Regions from separate parts of the Homo sapiens genome. Here region 2 is linked to region 1. Evidence: promoter capture Hi-C in human tissues and cell types (Jung and others, 2019). All regions are on one chromosome and are shown on one strand. Each heading gives the region's core, a stretch centred on a gene start or on the middle of the fragment in contact. The rest is flanking DNA. Distances are from core to core; before and after follow the strand shown.

Evidence for each region. Contacts are between HindIII fragments. The study calls those that stand out against the background at their distance.
Region 2: a contact is called between a fragment that was not itself captured here and the fragment with the promoter of RILPL1 in region 1, in 1 of the 25 tissues and cell types used here (spleen).

Annotation. Positions count from the first base shown.
Region 1 is chr12:123,531,412-123,536,574 of GRCh38, forward strand. RILPL1 (Rab interacting lysosomal protein like 1) reads right to left here and starts at 2,308. Exons shown (of 7, transcript NM_178314.5): 1 at 1,763-2,308. The coding sequence starts at 2,071. It overlaps MIR3908 (microRNA 3908), which reads left to right and starts at 4,998; the gene lies at 4,998-5,123. RefSeq lists an enhancer at 1,309-2,126 and silencers at 2,342-3,031, 3,051-3,236. The HindIII fragment of the contact is 25,082 bases long and covers 1-5,163 here.
Region 2 is chr12:122,520,902-122,526,151 of GRCh38, forward strand. It overlaps RSRC2 (arginine and serine rich coiled-coil 2), which reads right to left. Exons shown (of 10, transcript NM_023012.6): 2 at 1,242-1,398; 3 at 484-527. Among named protein-coding and RNA genes, the nearest start is that of RSRC2, 3.4 kb to the right of the region's middle. The HindIII fragment of the contact is 5,664 bases long and covers 1-4,965 here.

The sequences.
Region 1 (5,163 bases), core at 1,058-3,557:
AGTATAGGTGCCAGGACTTCTGTGTGATCTGGTCAAAGCCCCTTGGTCCCTGTTAATAAGAGGCGCCACACGAGAGAATTTCCAAGGTCCCTTGCCTCCTTGACCCTCTATGAGAGATGGAGGCCTCTAGGGTAGGAGTAGAGGTGCTTGGGGTGGGGACGGTTTCCTAATATGAGCCTGTGAGCACCTCAATGAATGTCTCTCCAGGCCTAAAAAGAATTTTAAGACTTGCAAAGCCCTTGCTATGGGCAGGCTCTGTCCTGAACACTTTATATGTATTTATATTAACTCTTTAAACCTCATCACATTCTAATGGGGGTACTATTACTATCCCATTTTAGAACTGAGGAAACTGAAGCACAGAGATGCTGGGTGATTTGCCCAAGATCACACAGCCTGCAAGTGGTAGGGTTTGAAACCAGGCTGTCTAGCTCCAAAGTCCTAGCTTCTAGGAGTCTTGAAATTAATTACAGGTCAAAGCATTTTCAGGCTCCCAGAGTGACCTCGGAAATGCTGCTCAACTCTTGGGAGCCTGAGTTTCCTTCCTGCCCCTAGGGCATAGGGACCCATGAGGACGAGCACAGTCAAACATGGCAATGGTGCTGTTACCTACCTGTGGGTCTGCCCTCAGGTAAAGGGTTCAGACCCAGCTTTGGCTATTTTACTCCAAAACACAGAGATCCATCAAAGTACACAATAAGGGATGGCCTGCCCCTGAGGTTCAGAGAGGCCATCTGTATTTCCTGAGGCTGAACAGCAAGCTGGAGACTGCTCAGGCACCCTGATCCCTCAAGGAAAGGTGTTTCCTCCCATTCTCAGTCTGAAGGGGCTGCCAAGAGCATCCCTGGCTGAGGTTAGGGCAGGAAACCACATGTCTTTCACTTCCTTTTCTCCAGAAACCTCGTCTGAACTCCAGGCCCAGTGGGGAGGCCCTGATTCAGAGAGACTCCTGATCACAGGGCAGAGGCTTAGCCTTAAAGCCACCCCAAATCATCCCTTTCCCCCAATTCAAACAGGGTGGGGAGGAGACACGGGGGCTGGGACTCTCTCACCACTAATTTGGGACAAATTGCTCCTCCCACTGTGACCCTCGGTTTCTTTATCTGTAAAATGAAGATAGTCTCTATAGAGTCCTGTGAGGATTAAGGATAAAATCAGAGGAGAGAACACGGGCTACCACAGGTTCATAAGCTAGGGGAGTCCCGGGAAGAAAGTTGCAAATATGAACCCGAAGACTAGGGGTCACGAAGCTCAGTGGCTGGAGGTCACATTCCCTTTGCTCTGGGGAGACTGGGGGGGGGGGGGATGAAGAAAGGGTCCTGGGCCTGATGTCACATCTTCTTGGTAACTCGGGAGGCCAAGAGGCTTATTTCATGTCTGGAAGAGAATAATATGTCTAAGCACTTAGCTTATATGGTCCCATTTAATTCTTCTAAGGTGGGTCCTATTATGATTACCATTTGACAGGTGAGGAAATAAAGCACAGAGAGGTTAAGTAACTTACCTAAAGTCACACAGCTATTAAACGGTAAAGGTGGGATTGGAACTCCAGAGAACAGCTCTTAATCTCTCGGGTGGTATCTGCCAGCCACCCCTGGTCGGGCAAAAGAAGGCCAGGGCCTCCCTCCCTCCCCACGTCGGGTCTCCTCTGGTCCGGTCCCTGAACACACACACGTGCGCACCCACAGCTGCCCAATGCGGAAGAGCCCTTGGGTCCCCGCGGTCCCACTGCCCGGACGGACAGACCGAGGCCGCCGCCCACCTTCTGGTGCTTGCGCTCCTTCTCGATGCGGTCCATCCTCTCCAGGCGCAGGCGGTCCAGCTCCAGGCGCAGCTCGTCCAGCTCGGGCGCGACGTGGTGGCGGCTGACCAGCACCTCCAGGATCTCCAGGACGCGCACGACCTTGGGCATGAGGCGCGCGATGGCCTCGCAGCCGTGCTGGTCAATGACCCGCTCGAACTCGTGGCCCACAAGCGACGCGATGTCGTACACGTCCATGACGGTCAGCTCGGCCACGTTCTTCTCCAGCGCCGACTCGGCCGCCAGCGCCGACCCCCGCTCCTCCTCCATGGCCACCCTCCTGGCCTGTCCCCCGCCCCGCAAACTCGTGCAACTCCCAAACTTGCCGCTGTCGAGGGCCGGGCCGGCCGGGCCCAGCCTGGGCCGCGGGCGGGCGCGCTCAGCGGGCGCTGGGGCGAGGGCGCAGCGGGCAGCGGGCGGCGGGCGCGGGCGCGGGCACGGGCGGCGGCGCGGGGTGTGCGGGCCCGGGGTCTGGGCGCCCGGCTCGGCCCGGAGCTGCTCCCGAGTGGGCGGCGGCGGCGGCGGCGGCGGCGGCGGCAGCGGGGAGGGCGCGCGCGTGCGCAGGCCCGCGGCGCCTCCCAAGTTGGGATCCGAGTTGCGCTCAATGGAGCCGGGCCGGGCGCCTCGGGGCGGTGCGGGCCTGAGGGGCGGCAGAGCGCGGGGCCGGAGAGGAAGGGCGGCCCGCGGCTCCTCCGGGAAACTTTGGCGGCGGCGGCTGCGAGGCCGGGTGATCGCTTCCCCACAGGGAGGCCGCGCGCCCCGCCCCAATCCCGGCCTGGCCAGGGGCGCGCCCGCTTTCCGCCGCCCGGGGGCGCCCCGGGGTACCCCCCCAAGCGCCGACTCCGCGGCCTGCACTCCGGGCCCCCCTCTCCAGCCGCCGGACCCGCGGCGCCCCTCACCCGTGCCCCGGCCGCCCCTCCCCCGCCCGGCGCTGACTCCTCCCACCACCCGGCCGCCGGGAGGGGTCCAGGCCGCCCCGGGAGAGGGGGCCGGGGGCGCTGGTCTCGCGGGACGATTCGCTGCTCCGGGTAGCGGCCCCGGCCTTGGAGAGGGATGGAGGGGTCACGAGGAGGTCCCCGGGCTGGGGCTCATCCCAGGAAGAGAACGGGGACCCCCCCCGGCCCGCAGACACTCCGCGCAGACCCGGCCACCAGGCGGACTTGCAGAGGCGCCCGGAGAGGGGCCGACGTGTCGAGGAATGCTGGATCCCCGGAGCCCCAGGGCGCGCCTCCCCGAGCCACATCCATCACTGGCTCCTTGTGACATGAACGCCACTTCACAGTAGAGCGAAGCCCGCTTGGCATTCCAGCACCACGAGTTCTCTTGTCCCAAGGCCCCCTGTCCATTTGGGCTGGCCAAATCCACTTGTCCATCAGACCCCCTCCCACTCCCGGGAGAACGTTTCCTGAACCCAGAACCCCATCCACCCTCCCCGCCCCCCACGCAGGAGTTAAGGACCCCCTTGCAAACTCACAGTCCCCTGCTTGCCCCATCAGGATTGCTCTTAGCATCCTGAGTTTTCACCGTGTGGTTGCAGGTAGGTTTCCACCGTCAGATCTTGGCTCCTTGAGGGAAGAAATCTTAATGCCCTTGTAGCCATAAAGCGCACCCCAACGTGGCACGTATTGATTAAAAATCTAAAAGTTGGCCGGGCGCGGTGGCTCACGCCTGTAATCCCAGCACTTTGGGAGACTGAGGTGGACGAGGTCAGGAGTTCAAGACCAGCCTAGCCAAGGTGGTGAAACCCCGTCTCTACTAAAAATACAAAAATTAGCCGGGCATGGTGGCGCATGCCTGTAATCCCAGCTACTCAGGAGGCTGAGGCAGAGAGTTGCTTAAACCCGGGAGGCGGAGGTTGCAGCAAGCCGAAATCGCGCCACTGCACTGCAGGCTGGGTGACAGAGCAAGACTCCATCTCAAAATAATAATATAATACAATAAATAAATAAATAAATAGTAAAAAAAAAAAAATTAAGGCCAGGCGGGGTGGCTCACGCCTGTAATCCCAGCACTTTGGGAGGCCGAGGTGGGAAAATTTCTAGAGCTCAGGAGTTCGAGACCAGCCTGGCCAACATGGTGAAACCACGCCTCTACTAAAAATACAAAAATTAGCCAGACATGGTGGCATGTGCCTGTAATCCCAGCTACTCAAGAGGCTGAGGCGCGAGAATCATTTGAGCCTGGGAGGCAGAGGTTGCAGTGAGCCAAGATCGTGCCACTGCACTCCAGCTTGGGCAACAAGAGCGAAACTCCGTCTCAAAAAAAAAAAAGAAAAAAAAAAAAGTAAAATAAAAAAATTAGCCAGACGTGGTGGTGAGAGCCTGTAGTCCCAGGTATTTGGGAGGCTGAGGTGGGAAGATCCCTTGAGCCTGGGAGGCAGAGGTTGCAGTGAGTTGAGATCACACCACTATGCTCCAAACTGGGCGACAGAGCGAAACTCTGTCTCAGAAAAATAAAAAATAAAAATAAATACTCCTGGCCACAGTGGCTCATGCTTGTAATCCTAGCACTTTGGGAGGCCAGGGCTGGAGGATCACTTGAGCCCAAGATTTCGAGACCAGCCTGGGCAGCATGGCAAAACCCCGTCTCTATTTAAAAAAAAGTCTGGTTGCAGTGACTTATGCCTGTAATCCCAGCACTTTGGGAGGCCAAGGGGGGCAGATCAGTTGAGGTCAGGAGTTCAAGATCAGCCTGGCCAACATGGTGAAACCTCATCTCTACTAAAAATACAAAAAAAAAAAAAAATTAGCCAGGCGTGGTGGCAGGCGCCTGTAATCCCAGCTACTCAGGAGGCTGAGGCAGGAGGATCACTTGAACCCGGGAGGCAGAGGTTGCAGTGAGCTGAGATCGAGATCGTGCCACTGCACTCCAGCCTGGGTGACAAAGCGAGACTCTGTCTCAAAATAAATAAATAAATAAATTAATTAATTAATTAAATAAAAATTACCCGACTCTGGTGGCAAGTGCCTGTAGTCCCAGCTACTCGGGAGACTGAGGTGGAAGGATGACTTGAGTCCCAGGGAGCAGAGGTTGCAGTGAGCTGTGATTACACCACTGCACTCCAACCTGGGTGACATAGGGAGACCCTGTCTCAAAAACAACAAAAAAACTCATACGTTATCTAGCACGGTGGCGTGAGCCTGTAGTTCCAGCTACTCCAGTGGGAGGATCCCTTGAGTTCAAGAGTTCTAGTCTAGCCTGAGCAATGTAGGTAGACTGTTTCTAAAAAAATAAAAAGTTAAAAAAATTTATGTTAACGTGTAATGTGTTTACTAATTTTTTTTTTTTTTTTTGGAGACAGAGTCTCCCTCTGTCGCCAGGCTAGAGTGCAGTGGCTCGATCTCAGCTCGCTGCAGCTTCGA
Region 2 (5,250 bases), core at 884-3,383, 1.0 Mb before region 1:
TCAAACCTTTATTTCAAAATTCAATACTACTATTAGGGAAACTGAACTAGTTTGCAAAAGAAAAGAGAACTCCTGTTATCGTTCATAAGGAAAAAGCAGCGCACAGATATCTAGGGTATTGCTATGTAAAGATGATTGCTGTTTAAAAATCCTGAGCAACTGTCAGGCACCAGGAGACTCGGGACCTCAGATTAATGGAAGCTCTGTGTGACAGGCCTAAAAAAACCAATCATATTCTTCATATGAAATTTTTATTGTGAATATTTTCACAATATAATAAAATTAAAGTTTTGAAGGTACTTTTCACATAAACATCTTCTTCAAAAATGATGAATCAAAATCATGCTTATTTTATAACCCAATAAACCTTTTAAATTTCAAGTTTTGTACTTACCTTGACAACGTCTTATATTCATACAAATCTTTCTACCAGACACTTTATAAGTATTTTAAAGTACCTATTCACTACAAAGTGTTAATTACCTCTTTGCTTCTGCTCCGGCTCCTGTGTTTTCTTCCTTCATTATCTGTGAATACACAAAAAAAATAATCACCATAAACAAAGTTGGAGAAACATTTCATCTTAAAAAACTCTTAATGCTGGAGAAAAATGACTCCCATTAGTCTTCTTCCAATGACTAATTTTTTCATGGCACGGGTGGGATTATTCTACATTAATACAACACACATGTGAAACAAATCAAGCAATCTGAGCAAACCAGGACATAAAGCAGCCTAGATACATCTTTTAAACGGTCATAGACTTTCAGTATTTTACATATATTCTGACCAGCCCATCTAGTTTCCTAGTCTACAGCAAATTCATAAGGGGGTTTAATAGAGAGAGGTAAGCCATTAAGAAAAATAAAAACTAAAGAAAATAAACAGGTTGAATTATATTTGATATGTTCCAACATGGTGAAACCCAGTCTCTACTAAAAATACAAAAATAAGCTAGGCGTGGTGGCGCACGCCTATAATCCCAGCTACTCAGGAGGCTGAGGCAGAAGAACTGCCTGAACCCAGCAGATGGAGGTTGCATTGGGCTGAGAGTGTGTCAATTTTTGTATTTTTGGTCCTGGCTCAGGTGATCTGCCTGCCTTGGCCTCCCAAAGTGCTGGCATTACAGGCTTGAGCCACCATGCCCAGCCAACAAACTAAATGTATGTGTCTTCTTATACAACAGGTCTACATATCTTATACAAATGCTGAGAGTTGTAACCACCTTTAAGAATTCATACCTGACTTTCGTTTTCTTTCTCTTGACCTTGATCGTGATCTTGAATAATGATGTTTTGAAGCTCTAGGAGAAACAGATACTTCTGACTGCTCTTTTTTCTTATCTCTATCTGGTGATGTCTTTTCTGGGGCTAGTCCATCTCGCTCTGTATCACTAGCCTAAAAGTTTAAAAACAAATGATTAAAGTTCTTAATTACATTTTAAATGTTTTCAATTTCTTAAAAGAGGGACAAAGGGAGGGAAGATAGCCCCCCACAATCAATAAATCAGAATGCCTGCTTTCCAAGTAACTAAATGTGCTTTGTACACTAATAAGGCTGAATGGCTTGAAATGACGAACCTGATACTAAAGCAAGACCTACATATTTAGACTGATGTATCTTTAATTTTCTAACGATGATTTGTATAACTTTTAAAACATGGGGTGGGGTGGGGGAGGAATAAGGGCTCCAAGTAGTTCTAATAAGCATTCAAGCAGAGAAAATAGTCCTTTTTAGATGTGTGAATGCATTTAGCTGACTTTACCAATACTTTTAAATTAGCATACATGTCAAACATCAAAAATGAGTTGTTAAAGCTTAAAGATACTCAAGACGATAAAATCTTAAAACAATGCCCTAAGAATATTATAAAATAATAAACAGAAAATTAACTTACCTAAGTGAGAACCTCATCTTAATGTCATTAACCCTCTTTAATGAAAACAGCCCCTTGGCACAGTGCTGCTGCAAAATATGGTCTGCCTCTCCTCACATGTGCTCTGGGCTATGAAAACATTAAGTTGTTTCTGCTTTAAAGCATTTTATAAGTAATTATTACAATATAAATTTTACAAGTTTCAACTAATGCAGAAGGTAGACAATGCTCGGCTATCTGACCAGAGAAGATAACATGAAAATAAAATAATTGATACACCTGGGGAATTGATTACTTAGGAAGGGTTGGCAAGCTATGGTCCTCATTCTGTTTCTGTATGGCCTTGAGCTAGGAATGGTTTTTTACGTTTTTTAAAACTATTTTAGGCATATTTAATAAATAACTTCAGTAAATAGCACTGTAAAGACTGAACTGTTAAAACTAAAGGCACTTAAAACGCCAGTGTTGTGGCTCATGCCTGTAATCCTAGCACTTTGGGAGGTTGAGGCAGGCGGATAACCTGAGGTCAGGAGTTTGAGACCAGCCTAGCCAACATGGTAAAACCCTGCTTCTACTAAAAACACAAAAATTAGCCAAGAGTGGTGGGGCGTGCCTGTAATCCCAGCAACTCAGGAGGTTGAGACAGGAGAATGGCTTGAACCCATGAGGCAGACGTTGAAGTGAGCTAAGATTGCGCCACTGCCCCTCCAGCCTGGGAAAGAATGTGACAGAGACTGCACATGGCCCACAAAGCCAAAAATATTTACCGTCTGGCCCTTTACAGAAACAGTTTATGGACTTTTCACGTATAACATCAAACGGAATCTGGATTGAATAAATAGGGAATCGATAGTCTTCAGCAGGAGGAATCACATTAGAGAACTTCCTCCTTTAGGAAAGTTAGTCCAGAAAATGAATACCAAATATCAAGTACAATAAATGGGGGTATTGTATTTTAACAAATTTTAAACAAGTATCAAGTACAATAAATGGGTGTATTGTACTTTAATAAATGAAGTTGTGAGAGGTCGAGTTACTTCAACAAGTATTTACTAAGGGTCAAAAATGTGCCAAAACCAATGCTAGACTTAGGGAATAAAATGATAAATTAAAAACAGAAAGGTTTTGCAGTTCAATTATGAGATGAAAGACATAAATTACGTGTTATTCCTCTAACAATGGCACAAAAAGAACAGTAAGAAATTAACTACCAGGGAGGCTCTCATGCCAGCATATTGTATATGTACTTATTTCTCCAGTCTGGGTGACTTCTGGAACCATAAAATTTTTATGCTGAAAGGTTTTCACCCCTTAGAATAGAGTTCAACTTTCTCGTTTCACAGATGAGATCCAGCAACATTAGCTGACTTGCTTAAAATGATACTGCATCTCCGTATCTTTACTGTTTACTACTAATAAATAATGCTGTATCATTAAGGATGATTCTGATTTTTCACAATGAATTCTGGACACTTTTTTTTTTCATCGTTATCCTTGAGGACTATTTCAGACTCATTTATTACTTGCTGAGTGTTTGTACAGCTTACACTTGGTAAACAGAAGTGATCTCGAAAATTTTAAGCACCGCTATTACTTCTCTCAGTTGCACGACACTTTTGCCAGAGACAGAATTCCTTAACTAGTGGCAAATCCCATTTACTTTTGCAGAGAACAAGACTAGAATCGAAAACAACCTTCTCATGGAAAATCTAGTGCTTAGCCTAGGCAGTTTTCAGGCAATGGTTTATCTAACTTTAACTTCATGCTTAACATCACAAAGCTGGACAACAGAGAAACCTCCCTGTGACATAGGCTAACTTAAACTTACATCATCAACCATTTTCATCTGTAAAATATACTACAGAGCAACAACAAAAACCATCTTAACACTAAACAAATAGGAATGATAGGTGGTCATTGAGGCCATGGAAAACTTTTATTTCCCTGAGGATATTTTATAGTAGCATAATACAGGTATCCAGGAAAAAAACCTACCAAAAACTGAGTATTAAAATTGCTCTGAAATTTTCTAAGCTTTAATTTAGTACTAATCTATGTGTACACATAAACGTTAACTGCAAAACAGCCTTCTATTCCAGCAGTGGCTCTACGAGGTAGCCACTTTGGTTTCTTATAATTTACATTTTGTTGCAAACTCTAATAACGGCTCGAAACATAGACAAATCTTTTTCCACTGCGAAGGAGGTAAGCACTGGATTGAATACTAGGTCACTTCTCTAGGGGACTGTCTTTTTATTGAACAAGGCACGGCATAAATAAATGTTTAAATTCACTTTTTAAAATACTAGAACCCGGCCGGGCGCGGTGGCTCACTCCTGTAATCCCAGCACTTTGGGAGGCCGAGGCGGGTGGATCATCTGAGGTCAGGAGTTCGAGACCAGCCTGGCCGACGTGGTGAAACCCCGTCTCTACCAAAAATATAAAAAAATTAGCCGGGTGTGGTGGTGGGCGCCTGTAATCCCAGCTACTCGGGAGTCTGAGGCAGGAGAATCGCTTGAACCCGGGAGGCGGAGGTTGCAGTGAGCCAAGATCGCGCCATCGCACTCCAGCCTGGGCGACAAGAGCAAAACTCCGTCTCGAAAAAATACAAAAAAACCTGCAACCCAAGAAAAATAGTATTACTCTTTAAGTATACTGAGGCCCAAAACACTAAACAAAGGAAGACAGTAAAAGAAACGGGTTTAAACTCAATCACCTAAATAATAGAGGGGTATGGGGGAAAAAGAAAATCATCTGCCTAATCCCAGGCATTCCAATCGTTAGGAAGAGCAAACTTTAAAACTATCACTATGTTTAAGAGTCATAATTATTATCGAAAATGATGTAATTTTTTAGTCAGTAAAAAGGAATGCAAAATCTTTACATTTTCCTTTTAACGGAATAAAAATGAGGTAAGCACAAAATAATGTGGATCCGTCAGAATTGGGTATCTTATACACACGCAGGCTTATTGTTCAGAATAGATAATTTACGAACTGTAGCTCCTCTGGGGTCAACGAAGAGTTTTTTTTTTTTTTTTTTTTTTTTTTTTTTTTTTTTTTGAGACGGAGTCTCGCTCTGTCACCCAGGCTGGAGTGCAGTGGCGGGATCTCGGTTCACTGCAAGCTCCGCCTCCCGGGTTCACGCCATTCTCCTGCCTCAGCCTCCCAAGTAGCTGGGACTACAGGCGTCCGCCACTACGCCCGGCTAATTTTTTTGTATTTTTAGTAGAGACAGGGTTTCACCGTTTTAGCCGGGATGGTCTCGATCTCCTGACCTCGTGATCCGCCCGCCTCGGCCTCCCAAAGTGCTGGGATTACAGGCGTGAGCCACCGCGCCCGGCCAACGAAGGGTTTAAATTTAAAGGAACAAGG